2 separate regions of the Homo sapiens genome follow, and region 2 is linked to region 1. Evidence: promoter capture Hi-C in 16 types of primary human blood cells and fetal thymus (Javierre and others, 2016). All regions are on one chromosome and are shown on one strand. Each heading gives the region's core, a stretch centred on a gene start or on the middle of the fragment in contact. The rest is flanking DNA. Distances are from core to core; before and after follow the strand shown. Region 1 holds the start of CXorf65 (chromosome X open reading frame 65). Region 2 holds the start of LOC124905198 (a long non-coding RNA gene).

Region 1 (3,681 bases), core at 75-2,574:
TATTGGGGGCCCAGGAGCCTGTGTATCCCTTCTGTAATCAATTACAGTGGTTGCAGACATCATGAGTACTCCTTTGGCACAGAGCTCGGTCTTTTACTTCCTGCCCCTAATTGACCCCTGACCTGGACATATCTGTCTTTAGGCCTGGAGTGGTGTGTCTAAGGGACTGGCTGAGAGTCTGCAGCCAGACTACAGTGAACGACTCTGCCTCGTCAGTGAGATTCCCCCAAAAGGAGGGGCCCTTGGGGAGGGGCCTGGGGCCTCCCCATGCAACCAGCATAGCCCCTACTGGGCCCCCCCATGTTACACCCTAAAGCCTGAAACCTGAACCCCAATCCTCTGACAGAAGAACCCCAGGGTCCTGTAGCCCTAAGTGGTACTAACTTTCCTTCATTCAACCCACCTGCGTCTCATACTCACCTCACCCCACTGTGGCTGATTTGGAATTTTGTGCCCCCATGTAAGCACCCCTTCATTTGGCATTCCCCACTTGAGAATTACCCTTTTGCCCCGAACATGTTTTTCTTCTCCCTCAGTCTGGCCCTTCCTTTTCGCAGGATTCTTCCTCCCTCCCTCTTTCCCTCCCTTCCTCTTTCCATCTACCCTCCGATTGTTCCTGAACCGATGAGAAATAAAGTTTCTGTTGATAATCATCAAAAATGTCTGTCATGGGGGTGGGGAGCAGGGGAAGCCTGGGATGCAATGAGGGTGGGAGGGGAAGAAAAAGGAGTAGTACATTCATGCTGTGGAGGCAGGAGTATTACCAATTTGCTAGAAAGAGTACTGTTCTGGAAACTGACTTTTTTCCAGGTGCCCTGCACTCATTCCAGGGTTTAGTTTAGAGTTAGACTTACAATGGGCTGGGCGTGGTGGCTCACGCCTGTAATCCCAGCACTTTGGGAGGCCAAAGCGGGTGGATCACGAGGTCAGGAGATCGAGACCAGCCTGGCCAACATGGTGAAACCCCGTCTCTACTAAAAATACAAAAATTAGCCAGGCGTGATGGTGTGCTCCTGTAATTCCAGCTACTTGGGAGGCTGAGGCAGGAGAATCGCTTGAACCCAGGAGGTAGAGGATGCAGTGAGCCAAGATTGTGCCACTGCACTCCAGCCTGGGCGACAGAGGGAGACTCCATCTAAAAAAATAAAAAAAATAAAAAAAGTTAGACTTACCATGTTGTCCCCCCTTTCCAACTAATCTTTAACATACCCCACCCAAGTTTTTCTCTCCTTACCCTTACTCCACTTTTTGGCCACACCTGCCACTTCTGACCTCATAATCCCTTAACTGCAGTCTCAGGCCCCACCCCTGGGGATACTGGTTATCCACAACTATCAACAGCTCTCTCCTGCCTGTCCAGCCTGGGCATCCTCAGCCTATGAAATCCATCTGCCTCTCTAGTCCACCAACCCTATAGGCCTATTTGCCCCACACAAGGCCTCTAGAACACCCTCCTTCTGCATGACTCATCAGGGCACTTTGTGAAGAGTGAGGCGATCTTGAGGGCATGTTCATCTTCATCAAACATGGAGGTGAGGGGCAGCACAGAACTAGAGTCTGTGGATGGGGGTGGAGGGATCTGAGGGCAGTGGAGATCACAGAAATGGGCCCATGTGTCCCATCCTATCTCTTCTCAGATAATCAGCAGTTTCTGGTCAATACCAACTGTGCTGTCGTCGTGTTGCTGTATTACATCCGCAGTAAAGTAAAGTTGCCTAAAACAAGTGAGGAGCTTAGGGAGGGGACTAATGGCCAAAGGTCAGAAGGAGTTGGGTCATCTCTAACCCCCAAGCCCTCCTCCTGGCAAGAAGGGAGTTCCTCATATCCTTAGAGCTTCCTCCAACCCATTTTGTATAGGATCACTGGCCCCTTTTGCTCCCACTCTCTTTCCTTAGCTGCCCCAATTACCCTGTGATCTCCCTCCAGACACCATCGATTTGTGTGAACAAACGGGGAAAATGAAGATGCTTTTCCTGATGAAGCCCAATCATGCAGAGTATGCCAGCAAATACCTTACAGCTCGAAGCACCTACTACGTTTGTAAGGTGGAACGTGGGCCACCAGGTAGAGGCTCAGGAGTGTTCCCCAGAAATAGAATAAGGCCTTCAAGATAGATTATGAACCTTATCTTTAAAACAAGGCATCCAAGGCTGGGCATAGTGGCTCATGCTTGTAATCTCAGCACTTTGAGAGGCCAAGGCGGGAGAATCGATAGAGGGCAGGAGTTTGAGACCAGCCTGGGCAACATAACAAGAGCCTGCCTCCAAAACCAAAACCAAAACCAAAAACAACCAAAACCAAATTAAAACAAAAAACAGAACACCCTCAAACAACAGAACACCCTCAACCAGATCCAAATTGACCATCTCTAGTCAGCCTAAGGAAGGGTACTGCCTCTATAATAATAGGTTACCTCACACATACTCTCCCCTAGGTCCATACCTAAGGGGAAGAAATATCCACCAGCTCAAGGTAGGTTTTTTTTTTTTTTTTTTTGGGACAGAGTTTCGCTCTTGTTGTCCAGTTGTCCAGGCTGGAGTGCAATGGCGCGATCTCAGCTCACTGCAACCTCTGCCTCCCAGGTTCAAGCGATTCTCCTGTCTTAGCCTCCTGAGTAGCTGGGACTACAGGCACCCGCCACCAGGCCCAACTAATTTTTTAGTGCAGATGGGGTTTCACCATGTTGGCCAAGCTGGTCTTGAACTCCTGACCTCAGGTGATCCACCCACCTCAGCCTCCCAAAGTGCTGGGATTACAGGCGTGAGCCACTGTGCCCGGCAAGGTAGTCTTTATTTTTATTTATTTATTTATTTTATTTTTTGTGATGGAGTCTTGCTCTGTCACCCAGGCTGAAACAGTGGCATGATCTTGGCTCACTGCAACCTCTGCCTCCTGGGTTCAAGTGATTCTCCTGCCTCAGCCTCCGGAGTAGCTGGGATTACAGGCGCCCACCACCATGCCCAGCTAATTTTTTTTGTTTGTTTGTATTTTTGGTAGAGATGGGGTTTCACCAAATTGGCCAGGCTAGTCTCGAATTGGCCAGGCTAGTCTGGAACTCCTGACCTCAAGTGATCCGCCCACCTTGGCCTCCCAAAATGCTGGGATTACAGGCGTGAGCCACCGCATCTGGCGGGTAGTCTTTAGTGTTAGGTCCTGGAATCTTGGACTTCTGAAGGGTGGAGACTGGATGACAGGGGCTGGAGATAGCACATGGCTATGTTCACAGGAACCAGGCTGGAGAATGCTTACAGAGCTTTTGTGCCTCTCCTCAAGAATCCGGAGCCTTGGCTGCTTGGTAAGAAGTGAGATGGGGGAGGGAAGAACATGAAGGGTACAGTATATAGCTGTGTGATGGAGAATGTAGGGTGGGACTAGCGTGATATGGTAGGTCAGATGATAGGAGCCTAGGAAAAGGCGGGCAGGGTCCAGGTCCACTTTAGGAGGGACGTTTAGCTCACACCAGGTGGAATGTGCATGCGTTACTCCCCACTTCCCCCATTTCTTGGCCATCTTCTCCGTATATCTCCCTGTCACCATTCCATCATTTCCATCTTAGGCCAAGTGGGGCTCCAGCTGATGGTTTGAACAATGAATGGGAGCATCAGGAAGGGTAAGGTCTCTAGTTCTCAGAGGTGCAGGTGCCTTTTCCTTGTTCTTAGTTGCACTGCGCATACAATGTGA
Region 2 (3,931 bases), core at 843-3,342, 240 kb before region 1:
CTTCACACACATCCTTCTCCACCAAGGGTAGTTGATTCCGGGGCTTCACATGGACGTGTGAGGCTGGGACAGAGAGGTACCCTCCATCAGATTCACATACAGGAAAGCTGGCTCAGTCTCCCTGACGTACACACACCTCACCCCATCCTCAAATCCCTTCCATCCAGGGAGTGGCTCATAAGACAACCGTCTCTAAAACAAGCTCCTGGGGGATAGGGAGACTCGGAGAGAGAAGATCGCAGTTAGGGATTGGCTCGGGGGTTCTCAATCCGATCGTTCTCCAGAGCCATTCGAACGCCAGAGCCTCCCGGGCGTCTTGAGTTGGGCTGGGCAGGTTCTGCGAACTGCGACCAAGTCCCACTCCGCTGTCGGACACAGTCTCCACTCGATGCCTGAAACCTCCTGGGAAGTGAAGTTCTAGGGCCAGCCTCACTGTAAGTCACAGGCTTCTACACTACATCTTCAGGTAATCGAGGACTACTTAGATCGCGACCTCAGTACGAGTTACTCAGCCCAGGAACCCCCAAACCTCATCTTTCCCTTGGCAAAGTGAGACCACCCCGTGTTCCCCAGATCCCCAAGTCCTATTTTCTCCTTTGGACTAATATGAACTTAAAGAGACACGGACATGAGAAAGTATTTGAGAGAAAAAAAAAAAGTAAGTAAAGACAATGAGGTAAAAAAAAAAAATTTGGGTGGGCGCGATGGCTCACGCCTGTAATCTCAGCACTTTGGGAGGCCGAGGTGGCGATGGGGGGAGGGGGAGGGGATCAACTGAGGTCAGGAGTTCGAGACCAGCCTGACCAACATGATGAAACCCCATCTCTACTAAAAATACAAAAATTAGCCGGGTATAGTGGCATGCGCCTATAATCCCAGCTGCTCGGGAGGCTGAGGCAGGAGAATCGCTTGAACTCGGGAGGCCGAGGTTGCAGTGAGCCAAGATCATGCCATTGCACTCCAGCCTGGGTGACAAGAGCAAAACTCCATCTCAAAAAAAAAAAAAAAAAAAAAGGCCAGGTGCGGTGGCTCACGCCTGTAATCCCAACACTTTGGGAGACAGAGGTGCGATGACCTGAGGTCAGGAGTTCGAGACCAGCCTGACCAACATGGTGAAACCCCATCTGTACTAAAAATACAAAATTAGCCAGGCGTGGCGGTGCATGCCTGTAATCCCAGCTACTCAGGAGACTGAGGCACGCGAATCACTTGAACTTGCAATGAGCCAAAATCGCACCATTGCGCTCCAGCTTGGGCAACAAGAACGAAACTCTGTCTCAACAAACAAACCAAAAAATAATTTTTTTTAATAAAATAATTCTTAAAAAGATAAACAAAAACACAAACCGAGTGTGGTGGTGCCCGCCTGTAGTCCCAGCTACTCTGGAGGCTGAGTGGGAGAGGATCGCTTGAGCCCAGGAGTTCAAGTCCAGCCTAGGCAACATCGCGAGAGCCCAGTCTCCAAAACAAATATAATCTTAAAAAAAAAAAAAGACAATGAGGTAGTGCGAGAATTACAGTTCCTTTCTATCAGTGTACATTAGTTTGAATTTCCAAGAGTTTTATATAAATGGAATCGTACAGCTTTACTGAGATATAAATTCATACACCATTTAAAATTTACAATTCAGTGGTTTTTGGTATATTACATTTTTAATTTTTATTTATTGTTTTTATAATTTTAAAATAAATTTAAAATTTTTAATTAATTTTATTTCTTTATTCATTTATTTTTTGAGACAGAATCTCACTCTGTCCCTAGGCTGGAGTGCAGTGATATGACCACAGCTCACCCCAGCCTCCACCTCCTGGGCTCAGGTGATCCTCCCACCACAGCCTCTCCACTACAGGCGAGCACCACCATGCCCAGCTAATTTTTGTATTTTTTGTAGAGACAGGGTTTCACCATGTTGCCCAGGCTGGTCTCGAACTCTTGGGCTCAAGTGATCTGCCCACCTCAGCCTCCCAAAGTGTTAGAATTATGCATGCGGCCTGTGTCTTTGCTGTTTTGTTTTGTTATGTTTTGTTTTGTTTTGTTGAGACAGAGTCTCGCTCTGTTATCCAGGCTGGAGTGCAGTGGTGCAATCTCGGCTCACTGCAACCTCCACCTCCCGGGTTCAAGCGATTCTCCTGCCTCAGCCTCCTAAGTAGCTGAGACTACAGGCACGCGCCACCACACCTGGCTAATGTTTGTATTTTTAGTAGAGAGGGGGCTTCGCCATGTTGGCCAGGTTGGTCTCAAATTCCTGACCTCAGGTGATCTGCTCTTCTCGGCCTCCCAAAGTGCTAGGATTACAGGCGTGAGCCACCGTGCCCAGCCACCTGTCTAGTTTTACTTTTTGCAGAGACAGGTCTCTGTGTTGCCCAGGCTGGTCTTGAACTCCTGGGCTCAAGCAATACACCTGCCTTCAGCTCCCAAAGTGCTGAAATTATAGGTGTGAACCACTGCACCTGGCAAATCTTGCTTTTCTACCCAATCTGATCATCTCTACCCTGTAATTAGGGTGTTAAGAACATCTAAGTTTAATGATTGTTAATATAATTAGATTTGGGTCTATCATCTTGTTTTTATTCGTCCCATCTCTTTGTTCTCTTTTTCTGACTTCTTTTGGATTAGTCAATATTACTTTTATTCCATTATATCTCCTATATTGGGTTATTAGCTATTCCTCCTTGTTTTAGTGGTTGCTTACAGGTTTATAGAGACATTTTTAACCTATCTCCATCTACCTTCAAATATTATACTATTTCACAGAGAGTGTAACAGCCTTACATTAATAGGCCAGGTGCGGTTGCTCACGCCTGTAATCTCAGCACACTGGTAGGCTGAGGCAGGCAGATCATCTGAGGTCAGGAGTGCGAGACCAGCCTGGCCAACATGGCAAAACCCCATCTCTACTAAAAATACAAAAATTGGCCAGGTGTGGTGGTGCATGCCTGTAGTCCCAGCTACTCGGGAGGCTGGGGCAGGAGAATCGCTTGAACCTGGGAGGTGGAGATTACAGTGAGCCGAGATCATGCCACTGCACTCCAGCCTGGGCAATAGAGCGAGACTCCCTCAAAAAAAAAACAAACCTTACATTAATATATTTCCAGGTTGGGCACAGTGGCCCATGCCTAATAATTCCAGCACTTTGCAAGGCTGAAGTGGGCAGATTGCATGAGCTCAGGAGTTTGAGACTAGCCTGGGCAACACGATGAAACCCTGTTTCTACCAAAAATAGACTTTATTTTTTAGAGCAATTTTAAGTTCACAGTAAAATCAAGTGGAAAGTACAGAGAGTTCCCATATATTCCGTGCTGCACCCCACAACCTCCCCTACTATCAAACTCTAGCATCAGAATGGAAAAAGAGAACAAAGAACAGTGTGCTATTGTTGAGCTGACTGGGCATGGTGGCTCATGCCTGTAATCCCAGCACTTTTAGAAGCCGAGGTGGGTGGATCACTTGAGGTCAGGAGTTCAAGACTAGCCTGGCCAACATGGTGTAAACCCTGTCTCCATTAAAAATACAAAAATTAGCCGGGCATGGTGGCACGCACCTGTAATCCCAGCTACTCGGGAGGCTAAGGCACGAGAATCGCTTGAACCCAGGAGTTGGAGGTTGCAGTGAGCCAAGATCATGCCACTGCACTCCAGCCTGGGTGACAGAGTGAGACTCCATCGGAAAAATAAATAAATAAATAATTGTTGGCCGGGTGCGGTGACTCATGACTATAATCCCAGCACTTTGGGAGGCCGAGGCAGGCAGATCACCTGAGGTCGGGAGTTCGAGACCAGCCTGACCAACATGGAGAAACCCCGTCTCTAATAAAAATACAAAATTGGCTGAGCGTGGTGGCGCATGCCTGTAATCCCAGCTACTCGGGAGGCTAAGGCAGGAGAATCGCTTGAACCCAGAGGCAGAGGTTGCTGTTAGCCGAGATTGCGC

The links. The method cuts DNA at HindIII sites, captures the fragments that hold promoters and counts their contacts. A CHiCAGO score of 5 or more calls a contact.
Region 2: a contact is called between a fragment that was not itself captured here and the fragment with the promoter of CXorf65 in region 1, in 2 of 17 cell types (naive CD4 T cells and M2 macrophages). The highest score is 5.7, in naive CD4 T cells.

The regions. Positions count from the first base shown.
Region 1 is chrX:71,104,383-71,108,063 of GRCh38, reverse strand. It overlaps CXorf65 (chromosome X open reading frame 65), which reads left to right and starts at 1,324. Exons shown (of 6, transcript NM_001025265.3): 1 at 1,324-1,532; 2 at 1,638-1,724; 3 at 1,927-2,064; 4 at 3,227-3,295; 5 at 3,660-3,681. The coding sequence starts at 1,508. IL2RG (interleukin 2 receptor subunit gamma) reads left to right here. Exons shown (of 8, transcript NM_000206.3): 8 at 143-660. The coding sequence ends at 328. The HindIII fragment of the contact is 6,290 bases long and covers 1-3,681 here.
Region 2 is chrX:71,344,720-71,348,650 of GRCh38, reverse strand. It overlaps LOC124905198 (a long non-coding RNA gene), which reads right to left and starts at 687. Exons shown (of 3, transcript XR_007068263.1): 1 at 1-687. The HindIII fragment of the contact is 5,105 bases long and covers 1-3,931 here.